Regions from separate parts of the Homo sapiens genome. Here regions 1 and 2 are each linked to region 3. The links are contacts of gene promoters, found by promoter capture Hi-C in blood cells and fetal thymus (Javierre and others, 2016). All regions are on one chromosome and are shown on one strand. The core of a region is centred on a gene start or on the middle of the fragment in contact, and the rest is flanking DNA. Distances in the headings are between cores, read along the strand shown. Region 1 has its middle 160 kb from the start of SNTB1. Region 2 has its middle 140 kb from the start of SNTB1. Region 3 holds the start of TAF2 (TATA-box binding protein associated factor 2).

Evidence for each region. The method cuts DNA at HindIII sites, captures the fragments that hold promoters and counts their contacts. A CHiCAGO score of 5 or more calls a contact.
Region 1: a fragment that was not itself captured here is called in contact with the fragment with the promoter of TAF2 in region 3 in 1 of 17 cell types (naive B cells); the score reaches 5.5 in naive B cells.
Region 2: a contact is called between a fragment that was not itself captured here and the fragment with the promoter of TAF2 in region 3, in 1 of 17 cell types (total B cells). The highest score is 9.2, in total B cells.

The regions. Positions count from the first base shown.
Region 1 is chr8:120,966,934-120,970,966 of GRCh38, forward strand. No RefSeq gene overlaps it. Among named protein-coding and RNA genes, the nearest start is that of SNTB1, 160 kb to the left of the region's middle. The HindIII fragment of the contact is 987 bases long and covers 1,914-2,900 here.
Region 2 is chr8:120,948,380-120,952,449 of GRCh38, forward strand. No RefSeq gene overlaps it. Among named protein-coding and RNA genes, the nearest start is that of SNTB1, 140 kb to the left of the region's middle. The HindIII fragment of the contact is 2,603 bases long and covers 1,341-3,943 here.
Region 3 is chr8:119,830,759-119,834,571 of GRCh38, forward strand. TAF2 (TATA-box binding protein associated factor 2) reads right to left here and starts at 2,083. Exons shown (of 26, transcript NM_003184.4): 1 at 1,724-2,083; 2 at 919-973. The coding sequence starts at 1,806. DSCC1 (DNA replication and sister chromatid cohesion 1) reads right to left here. Exons shown (of 9, transcript NM_024094.3): 9 at 3,218-3,813. LOC105375728 (a long non-coding RNA gene) reads left to right here and starts at 2,121. Exons shown (of 4, transcript XR_928590.3): 1 at 2,121-2,318. RefSeq lists enhancers at 1,735-1,784, 1,845-2,204. The HindIII fragment of the contact is 3,868 bases long and covers 2,009-3,813 here.

The DNA of each region.
Region 1 (4,033 bases), core at 1,157-3,656, 1.1 Mb after region 3:
AAGTGATGTGCACCACTTCCAGGCCTGGTTCCTTAACCCTCCCAGATACTCTCCTGCATCCTCTTTCTCCTCTTTATTCTGCTAGAATATCGAAATTGACAGAGCTTCTGGCAGCCAGGTCTCTGCCTTCCTCTTCAACAACCTAGTAGACAAGAAATGAACGTCTATTGTGTTAGTGCCAGTGTGCATTTTTGGGTTTATAGAGCAGTTAGGTATAGCCACACTTAATATATGACCCTGGGCAATTATGTATCATCTGTGAACTTCCATCTGTAAAGTGTGGGTAATGGTACTTATTTTGCAATTTTGTTGTAAGGATTAAATGAAATCAAATATAAAATTTTCAGCTTAATCAGGTTGTTATTTTTATTATTTATATACCACTAACATCTAATAGTTAAAGTGTTAGGAGACATTTGATGGTCCTTTTACATGGCTGCAGTATAAATCCCTTTTCTTTCAGTTATATGACAGAAAAGTTATGTTGTTTTCCCAGAGCTCTGGGAGAACAACAGAGGGGAAGTCTATCTGTCCTCTTTATCATCTATTCCCTTGACAGCTTTACATTGAGATTCTGCTGAGAATCTAAACCCCATAAGGTTTGGGACTGGGTCTTATCTTACATCTCTTCCCCCAGAGTAGCTAGCCTAGTGTCTTGTATATAGCAAGTGATTAACACATGTTTCTTGCATTTTTTTTTATTTTCTAGTATTTATTATTTGCATACTATGTTTCCAGCACTGTGCATGTGCTTAATTTTCTTGCATTATTTTCATACAGAGTATCTCATGTGAAACTCCTACAGTATTATGAGATGAGCAGTACTTTTCTCCACTATAGAGATAAAGTCACATCGCATAGCAGCAACAGGAGAATTAGGATAGGAATCCAGGTAATCTGACTTCAGAGCCACTACAGTTCCTCTTATGGATGAATAATAGTAATCTTTAGCTTACTGAGGACATATCATGTAAGTGCTAAACTCTTTACATGTGTAAACCCATTTAATATTCACTACAGCTGTGTAAAGATGAAATTTGTGTATTAGGTGAAGTTTGTTACATAGATATAAAAAAACTAAAGGATGCCTAACTAAGGCATCCAACCCAGTCTTTGCCGTCTTTGGGGAAAAAATTGATAACAGGAAAAATCTACTCATGAATATTTGATAATTATGAAAAAGAAAATCTGGCTGTGCATACGGTAAAAGAATTATTTAATCCTCACTCATTCCTTCACCATTGAATTAGCACCTACGGTATGTCAGGCACTGAAGGAGGAGCTGAGGTTACAGAGAAGTCAGCCCCTGCCCTCAAGAGCTTTTCTGTCTAGTGGGTGTGGGAGAAACATAAACTTAGTGAACTTAAGACATATTAGAGCAAGAGCCAGCTGAATTCTTGATGCTGGGAACAGTTGGACATAACATGACCAGTTTGTACAGTCAGAAGCAGCCAAGTAGGAGGTAATAATTTTAGTTTTACATAAAATGAATGATTTATGAGTGTTTTCTGTTGGGGGGCAGGGAAGCAAAAGAAATGAGACTTACAAGTATTTGTTGGGTTCATTTATTTTAACATTTCCCATATGCTCAGAAGACAACATAATGAAATATATTTTCTTTGTTAGACACTGAAGAGCTTGGCAGGCCTTCCTATTTATTCCTTGTATTCCAATCTCTTGTTATGATGTCTGCTAATATTTCCTGTGTGTCTTATTTCACTAAAAAAAAAAATACAAATAAAACAGCACATACACAACAACAACAATTCAAATAGGTTCATTCCACATTTTCTTGGGACCATGTTAGTTATAAGGAAGTAAATTAAAACTGTAAGATAAAAAGTTGTAGACCACTGAGATCTGTAATACTGCTAATAATACCCAGGATTTCTAGAGTCCGTTGGAGCCTTCAAAGCTTGTTGTATATCTGCTTATCTTTGCCTGATTTAATACTCTAGGAAGTTTGCAAAGGAAGTAATCCGATGCTTATATTCAAGGTGAGGAAGTAGAGTCTCAGAGAAGCATAATGACTTGTCTCAGGTCAGATCAACTGTATATTACAGAACCATGTCTTCAACCAGGCTCTTTCTATACAATTGTTTCAGCTGTAATATGCTGCAGATATCTCTACTTTGAATTAGAGCAAGAAACCAATATTTTAATGTTTGTCATCTATTTTTTGGTATCAAAATTTTATTTGTTAAAAGTTTCTCCTAAATAAAATGATGCTTTAGATATTTAAATAGATCCTACAAAGGCAATTTTTAAAATAATTTTCTGGTTCTTAACCATCTAATTTTTTTTTTTTTTTTTTGAGACGGAGTCTCGCTCTGTTGCCAGCCTGGAGTGCAGTGGCATGATCTCAGCTCACTGAAATGTCTGCCCCCCAGGGTTCAACCGTTTCCCCTGCCTGGGATTACAGGCAGGAGCCACCAGGCCCAGCTAATTTTTTGTATTTTTAGTAGAGACAGGTTTTCACCATGTTGGCCAGGAAGGTCTCGATCTCCTGATCTCGTGATCCGCCCACCTCAGCCTCCCAAAGTGCTGGGATTACAGGCATGAGCCACCATGCCCGGCCCTCATCTACTATTTTTTTTTTTTTTAGTAATGATTCTAGTGTTTTTATGAAAAATATGTAAAAATAATTTCTGAGTTTTCTTGAGCTTGCCCAGCTCTACTAAACTTGAGCTTTTGGTAAGAACTAGATGTTTCAGATCTGTCTACATCTCAACAGCTCAGAAGCTGGACTGGAACAAGGACACAGTGCTGAGGGCAGCTCCAGGTGGGTCCTTCGGTCCTGGACCGTGACATTTTTGAGTTTACCTTGGTGACAGCTCCCGAGACTTGAACATGTTAGCGTGGTCTGTGCTTGTTCTATTGCTTGACAGGGCCCAAGAACAAGCTTCCTGAGCCTGGCATTCAGTTCTTTAGGGATGCTGCATGAATTTTTATAACCTATCCACCCACCTCACGTCATTATTTCAGAAATATATAAATTCCTGGCAATTTTCCTTTCTTTTTCAAAGGAGGAAGGCCCACTGCAGTATCTTTTATCAATCTCCTTTCTGTCTGTAATACAGGGCCCCATTTTCCCTCCCTAGGCATTGGTGACTATTTTCTCACAATTTTATCTGTCTCTGGCTTTTCTTCTCTGATCCATTTGCCACATTAGCACTGGAGTTATTTTGTTTTACTGGAATTTTAAGACTGAGCGTGTCATTCTCCCACTTAAAAATCTCGGAAGGCTCAGTATATCCAATGCAAGATAAAGTCAAAAGTCAGGGAATTCTGGGTCCCAGGATCACCCAAGTAATTGACCTCAAGTGACTTTTCCGGATCCTCAGTACCGGTGCCAGGTCACCTACACTACCTTACGTTCCAGCCCCTGGGGCCTTTTGGCCTGTTCTCTATTAAACAAACATGTCACACCACCGTATTTTTCTTCTCCGGTTTCCCAAAGATATACTTTGTCCCACGGTATACCTATCAAAGTGTCTTCACTCATTTAATGTCCAGTTTAAATACCTCCTACTGTGGGGTGCTTACCCTGATGATCCCCTAGAATTACATGCTGATAGCCCATTACTTGTGTGAACATTGAACAATCTTTCTTGCTTATAAGGTAGCTGCTTTTGTGTCTGTCTCATCTACTAGATTACGAGGGTTGGCTTCATCAGCATGAGAGCTGTGAAGCTGCACGGTAGCCCATGTTTCAACGGATCCACGTTTGACTCAATGCTTTGCTATTGCCATCTTGAAATTCTTACCGTTTTTCAAGTAAGTCGCTCTCCATCTTCATTTTACACTGAGTCCTGCAAATATTATAGGTGGTCCTGTCTTAAGAACAGAGGCTAATTTGAATTCATCTTTAACTATACCAGCTCTATGCCTTTCACCTAAGTGCTGCCTACTTTAAACTTCTTATTGAAAGAAACTGGAAATGAGTAGCCAAAAATGTGCTTAATTACAACATTTCAGAACAGGAGCCTGACTTGAAACTCACTTGAGAAGTCTGGGTATCCAGAGACATAAA
Region 2 (4,070 bases), core at 1,392-3,891, 1.1 Mb after region 3:
GCACTCTGGGAGGCCGAGGTGGGCAGATCACCTGAGGTCAGAAGTTCAAGACCAGCCTGACCAACATGGTGAAACCGCATCTCTACTAAAAATACAAAAAAATTAGCCAGGCGTGGTGGCGTGTGCATGTAATCCCAGCTACCTAGGAGACTGAGGCAGGAGAATCACTGGAACCCGGGAGGCAGAAGCTGCAGTGAGCCGAGATGGCGCCACTGTACTCCAGACTGGGTGACAGAGCAAGACTCCATCTCAAGAAGAAAAACTTATTCTGGCTGGGTGCAGTGGCTCACGCCTGTAATCCCAGCACTTTGGGAGGCCAAGGTGGGTGGATCACCCGAGGTCAGGAGTTCGAGACCGGCCTGGCCAACATGGTGAAACCCCATCTCTACTAAAAACAAACAAACAAACAAAAAATTAGCCGGGCATGGTGCACTTGTAATTCCAGCTACTTGGGAGGCTTAGGCAGGAGAATCACTTGAATCCAGGAGGCAGAGGTTGCAGTGAGTCGAGATTGCACCACTGCACCTCAGCCTGGGTGACAGAGCAAGACTCCATCTCAAAACAAAACAAAAAACAAACAAAACTTATTCTTACTGTGTGTTATTGACTGTAGTGCTTCCTGTTTTTATCCATTCCATGTTTCAAAAGAAGTTGATTACAGTGGACTAAATTGATTTCACATCTCCATAACAAGTTGCTCTCTATGGATGGAAAAACAACTGGACCAGGCAATTTGAAATCTTTACAGTGACCACTTGTTTTGGCAGCATATATGTGCAGTTTTGGTGTAACTGTCAAACTTGAATTGTAGCATGATTAAATCAGGTAATTCTGAGTGAGCGTTAAGCAGAGTGGGAAGAAATGGAGGTATGAGTTTGGGTTTTGGCTTCAGACACTTGGTTTGCATGCACTCTAGTTGAGGGCTAGTTTTGCATCCTGGCGAACAGTATAGATTCTGTAGTCAGACGGCCTTTATCTAATTTCTGGCTCACAGTTAGTTGTGTTCATGAACATGAACAAGCTACTTAACTTCATCAAGCCTCAGTTTCTTCATCTATAAAATGAAAATAATGTTACCCTTTTTTGACATTGTGAGGTTTTAAGACGTACAGAGTAAGCATTCAATAAATGTTAGCTATTATTGAAAATCCCATAAAAATGAAACAAGAGTGTTCAAATATCTATCTACATGTTCACGTGGTCAAATTGACATAGGTGTTGGCTACAGTTGCTGTACATTTGTCATGTGGCTGGCCCTGTGAAAAGCACTCTATATGCATTTAACCTTTGCAACATCGGATAATGCATTATTTGTCTCATTTTGTAGATGAAGAAATTGAAGCTTAGGGAGCTCAAGTAACAGAGTTGGTAAATGGCAGAGCTGGGATTCTGGCTCAGGTATATCTGATTTCAGAGCCCAAGCACCTCGTTTATTAGCTGCTTTTGGTTCTACCTTCTTCCATAGCCACATGACTCACTCCCTTGCTTATTTCATGTCTCTGCTTAGTTTTCACTAATTTATCCACTCTGTAGAAAACAGCAGTCCCCTCCCTCATCCCTACACTTCCTGTCTGCCACACCGCTTTATTTAGCATTATAACATCTTATATCATATGGCACTTTACAATTACTTGCTTCTTGATCATTTGTCTCTCACTGGAACAAAAGCTCCTTAAGGCCAGGGCCCTTGTATTATTCACTGGTGTGTCTCCAGCACCCAAAGTGGTATCTGGCAGCTTCACAAAACAGGTAAGTGATTTGAGTTCACTCTGTCAAAGAACAACATTTGTTTGACTGTAGGAGTAAATTACAATTTGTTTTTATATCATATGTACAGACTGATCTGTGTGGTACAGAGACCAAGCAAATAGTGGTAATCCTTCACAGAACACATTTTATTCATATATTTTAACAAGGATGATGTACAAATATTTATCAATGCAAATTTTTATCTTTATTACACATATTCAAAAATGTCCCAATGAGTTCTGCTGCATTTTCTTTACAAATACATGTTTTGATAATAGCTTTATTTATATATAATTTATTTACCATAGAATTCACCCCTTGAAAGTGAATACTCCAGTGACTTTTACTACATTCATGAGCTTTGCAACCATGGCAGCCATCAATTTTTTTTTTTTTTTTTTTTTTTTTTGAGATGGAGTTTTGTCTTGTCACCCAGGCTGGAATGCAGTGGCGTGATCTCAGCTCACTGCAACCTCCTCCTCCCGGGTTTAAGTGATTCTCCTGCCTCTGTCTCCCGAGTAGCTGGGATTACAGGCACGTGCCACCATGCCCGGCTAAATTTTGTATTTTTAGTAGAGATGGGGTTTCACCACGTTGGCCAGGCTGATCTCGAACTCCTGACCTCAGGTGATCCGCCTGCCTTGGCCTCCCAAGCAGCCATCAATTTTAAGACCTCTTCATCACCCCCAAAAGGGTACACTTCCAAAAGGAAGCCTGTACCAATTAGCCATCATCCCCACCATTTGCTCCCAAACCTCAAGCCTAGGAAATCGTTAATCTAATTTCTTTCTCATGGATTTTCCTATTTAGACATTTGACATAAATGGAATCATGCAACACACACACACACACCGCCATAGTGGTATCTGGGGTATATAACATATACTCTATAAATATTCACATTCAAATAAATACACTAATTAATTGAGATCAGTGAAACAAGTCACAGAAAACTTAAGATTAAGACAGCCTCACTTATAATTTCATTGCCTTTAGATTTATTCTGAATGTTTTCATGTGTGTCTCATATTTGTGATGTTTTGAAGACATTCTATGAGCCATTATTTCCTCTAAGAATTGGGGAACCTGCAGTCCATACATTGGGTCTTGTTCCTCTACTTAATTTCACTTGGTTCATTGGAAAAGTACCAAGAAAGTGATGTTGCTGTTTACAATTGTTGCATAGTTGAGAAGATGGAGTAAGGCATCAGAAGCCTTCAGCTGCAGTATCCTTACCTTCCACAAGATGGTGCTCCTATTCTATAGAAGTCACTGTATTGCTCAGGTTCTGTGATGCTTGTTTTTCTGGGTTTGACTTTTTAATTTCGTTGTGCTTGTCTCTGCCTTTTTCTTAGAATTTTTGGTGTTTCTATCTCTTTCTACTTTTCTTTTTTTCTCTTATATTTAAACCTTTACCTGGGCAGTTTATTATATAGAACAAAGTAGACATCTTTATTGTTTAACAAAATAAGGTTGAGTTTTATGTTCCTTGATGTTATCTTTAAAATCTAATGAATGCACAATAATGTAGACTATATACTTATTTATCTAAGGAAAATCAAATATGTAAAAGTTGTTTCTGAGGTCAGTTATGTGGCTGTTGACTATTCTTTTCTCTCTCTAGATTAATTTTGTAAGTTTTTTTATGGTTTTTAAAAACAGGGTTTTACTGTTGCCCAGGCTGTAGTGCAGTGGCATGATCATGGCTCACTGTAGCTGCAAACGCTGGGGCTCAAGTAATCTTCTTGCCTCAGCGTCCCAAAGTGCTGAGATTACAAGTATGAACCATGGTGCCTAGCCCTATTTTGTAAGATTTTTAGAGTTGTGGCTGGGCGCAGTGGCTCACGCCTATAATCCCAGCATTTTGGGAGGCTGAGGTGGGCAGATCACCTGAGGTCAGGAGTTCAAGACCAGCCTGGCCAAGATGGTGAAAACCCATCTCTACTAAAAATACAAAAATTAGCTGGGCATGGTGGTGGGCGCCTGTAATCCCAGCTACTCAGGGGGCTGAGGCAAGGAATTGCTTGATTCCAGCCTGGGAGGCAGAGCAAGACTCCGTCTCAACGAAAAACGAAACAAAACAAAAGACTTGTGAGGCTTGGAGGTATTGAATTGTTTTTGAGGTCATTCATGTGGCTAATGACTATTTTTCCCTCTTTTAAGGTTAATTTTGTAAGACTTACAGAAGTTTTAAAGCTTGGAGATATGAAGTGATTTGTCACAAATAGTACAGGTTGCTGGAAGAACCAGGAATTAAATTTACATCAGTTTGCTTTAAGTCTACCTCACGTTTACTCTGCCTTGCTGACATCCTGCTCCTT
Region 3 (3,813 bases), core at 833-3,332:
AACATTTTAGCCTATGTAATAAAGGTAGCCCTAAGAAAGTAAATTAAATAAATACTTGAGTTTTCAGCCAGGTGCAGTGGTTCATGCCTGTAATCCCAGCATTTTGGGAGGCAGAGGCAGGTGAATCACTTGAGGTCAGGAGTTCGAGACCAGCCTGGCCAACATGGAGAAAACTCTGACTCCATTAAAAATACACAAATAAGCTGGGCGTGGTCATGCACACCTGTAATTCAAGCTACTTGGGAGGCTGAGGTAGGACAACTGCTTGAACCCAGGAGGTGGAGGTTGCAGTGAGCCAAGATCACAGCACTGCACTCCAGCCTCAGTGACAGAGCGAGACTCTGTCTCCAAAAACAAACAAACAAACAAAAAACTTGAATGTTCAAGCTTTTTCCTAAAATTGATTATATCAGCAATCCATACATCTAAATTGTGTCGGGAGGCAGGGGGAGGTAGAGGGTTTCTAGATCTCAAATACTCTATCTAAAACTTCATTACAAAGCAACATCACCTAAACCAAGTCAGTCAAGAAGCAAAAATGGCCTCTTAGAAGCCAAGTCAGTGAGTGTATTAATCTTAATTTTTTTCATAGAAGAAATGTCGCTATGGGCTTATACTTGTTTCATGCACAATTATAAAATGCTTGGCTATACAGGCTTTCATATTATACACCAGATAAAGAGGAATAAAATTTTAATTAGGAAATTGAAAAAAAAGGAAAGGGAGAATTTGGGAGGCAATAGGTATTAATAGAAGGACCATGGAACTTGTAATCATACAGACCCTAATTTTAATTCTTACCTATTCTTGAAACACAATTATCTGGAAGACTACAAACTTTCTAAGTACTGTGAGGGGTGGATTGTTACTCTTTATAGTGGACTTGTTACTATTTATAATTGTTGAGAATAAACTTACCACAACAGATTTTCTCTGGAAATTTATGTTGTTGATGCAGACGACCTGATGGGTTGTATATTAATAAATATAAAAAGAAAATAAGGAAAAAATAATTTTTATTATTAAATCAAAGTATAATTCTATCCAAGTATAAATTAGGACTATGTTCTAAGTAATTCAAAATTACATGTCAATATTTCATTTTAAAACTACGAATTGGGGCCTGGTGCGGTGGCTCACGCCTGTAATCCCAGCACTTTGGGAGGCCACGGCAAGCGGATCACGAGGTCAAGAGTTCGAGACCAGCCTGGCCAACAGAGTGAAACCGAGTCTCTACTAAAAATACAAAAGTTAGCCGGGCATCGTGGCACACGCCTGTAATCCCGGCTACTCAGGAGGCTGAGCCAGGAGAAAAGCTTGAACCCGGCAGGTGGAGGCTGCAGTGAGCCGAGATCGCGCCGTTGCACTCCAGCCTGGGCGACTGAGAGACTCCGTCTTAAAAATTAAAAAATTAAAAAAAAAAAAACACTCTACCAATTGGGATAATTTTTTAAAATCTAGCAACAGTCACGAAAACAGATTTGACAGAAATACAATCTAGTACTTAGACAAAAACTTTAGTAACTTGCAACGGGAATTAAATTTGCTGAATAACCTGTCATTCAAAACATTTTTACCTTACAAACACCATTTCCATCACAGTGAGTAAATTCTAGTTTCCCACTAGGTTTCCCAGGCCCACCAAGTCAATTTCAAGCAATCGCAAAATATAATTAATGGCAACAAAACCAAAAGGAAGGAAGGGAAATGAAAAAATACTTATAATTTATATGGCCTTGGGCTTTCAAAGCCCTTGTCTCCTTTCTTCCTGTTCATTCTGGCGGGCTCTACACCAGTCAGCGGCATGAAGCGGTCCCGCGGAGCTTGGCTTCCCGGCTTCCTAGGGGGATACGGGGCATTACTAGTCTTTGGCACCTCACACTCTCCACTCCCCTGCGGTCCCCAAGTCACGTCTCGCAGCTGGCCGGTGCCCAGGTGAGCGACCTGACGGGTCGCTGCCCGCCTCAACCTCGCTCCTTCGACTAGCTCCTAGAAGCCGCCGTCGACAAGCTTCTGTCACAGAGATGCTCCTCTCCGCAAGGGCTCGAAGCTACCATCCGCCGACATCTTGTCTGTAACCTCTGACCTCCGACGTCAGCGGAAGTGGAACGGCGGCGGGGGTAGAACCAGGAAGTCTTGTCAATGGGCAGGGCTTGCGATCTTCGCATGTGTCTTATCGTAAAGAATTGTTAAAATTTAGGATAGGGAAAAAACTATTTAATGGATGAAGCGAGAACAGCAGGAAGAAAAGGAGGGAAGGTAGTTTTCTAGTACAAGCATATTGAGAAGAATGGAGGACAAAGTTTGCGAAGAGCCAGGTATAAATAGGCTGGGGCAGGGTGCTAGTAACTGGGCGGGGTGGGGTGGTGGGAAGTCTCCCGAAATCAGGAGGTGCGTGCCTCTGGCTTGCTGTGTGAACAGACACACTGGGTCCGGTGATTTAAGCTGTAAAATATGTGATTAGACTGCAGGTAGTCTAAATGTCAAAACTGCAGCACTCCACAGCTCTCACTAGGCACTGCTGCCTTAGTATTTATTTTAAAATATAGATTACAAGGCCGGGCGCAGTGGCTCACTCCTGTAATCCCAACACTTTGGGAGGCCGAGGCGGGCCGATCATTTGAGGTCAGGAGTTCGAGACCAGCCTGACCAACATGGTGAAACCCCGTCTCTACTAAAAATTACACAAAATTAGCTGGGCGTGGTGGTGCACGCCTGTAATCCCAGCTACTTGGGAGGCTGGGGCAGGAGAATTGCTTGAACCTGGGAGACGGAAGTTGCAGCGAGCTGAGATCGTTCCACTGCACTCCAGCCTGGGCGACAGAGCTGAGACTGTCTCAGAAAAAAAAAAAAAGAATAAAATATAGACTACAGGCCAGGCGTGGTGGCTCACGCCTGTAATCCTAGCACTTAGGGAAACTGAGGCAGTCATATCACTTGAGGTCAGCAGTTCAAGACCAGCCTGGCCAACATGGTGAAAGCCCGTCTCTAGTAAAAATACAAAAATTAGCCCTGCGTCGTGGCGTGCGCCTGTATTCCCAGCCACTCGGGAGGGTGAGGCACCAGAATCACCTGAACTCGGGAAGCCGAGTTTGCAGTGAGCTGAGATCATGCCATTGCACTCCAGTCTGGGAGACAAAGCGAGACTCCCTCTCAAAATAAATAAATAGACTACATAGAGATATATAGACTGTGTATATATATCATATAATCCATATAAATGCAGAAACATTTATTGAAAGACATTTCGAAGCCATCGTGTTTGTATTTCATGTTCATGACAATAAAACTTGTAAACTTCAGTAACAGTTAAACCTTCTTTAATTATGGATTAGCCATTAACATTTTTGAAACGTGGACCATTTAACCTCGGCCTACCCCCTCCAACTGTCCTGGTGATGAGTTCATTAGCTAAGTTAAAATTAATTTGAACTTTGATCTAAACCAAAACAAATCAGGAAAATAAAGCTGTAAAGGAACTTTATCAAGCATTCCAAAACCAACTAGAAATTACTTGAAGTTTTCGAGTGAGCATTGCCTGTGCCAGTATTCTTCATTATAGGATTATAAACTCGTTTTTTTCCCAAAGCGCATGTCTACGCCAGGCAGAGGAGTAATTATTCAGCCAATTTCATGGATGTAAACGATGGATATAAATAATTGATAGCACCTAGAGGCTTCCAGTTTGGGTGGAAGGCTAAAAGTAGAGGGGAACTCACTCACTTGAGAAATGATATTTAAGTGAATAAATAGTTCTCTTCTATGAAACTATTACTATTTAGTTCTCTGGAAAACTTAAGTGTATTAATGATT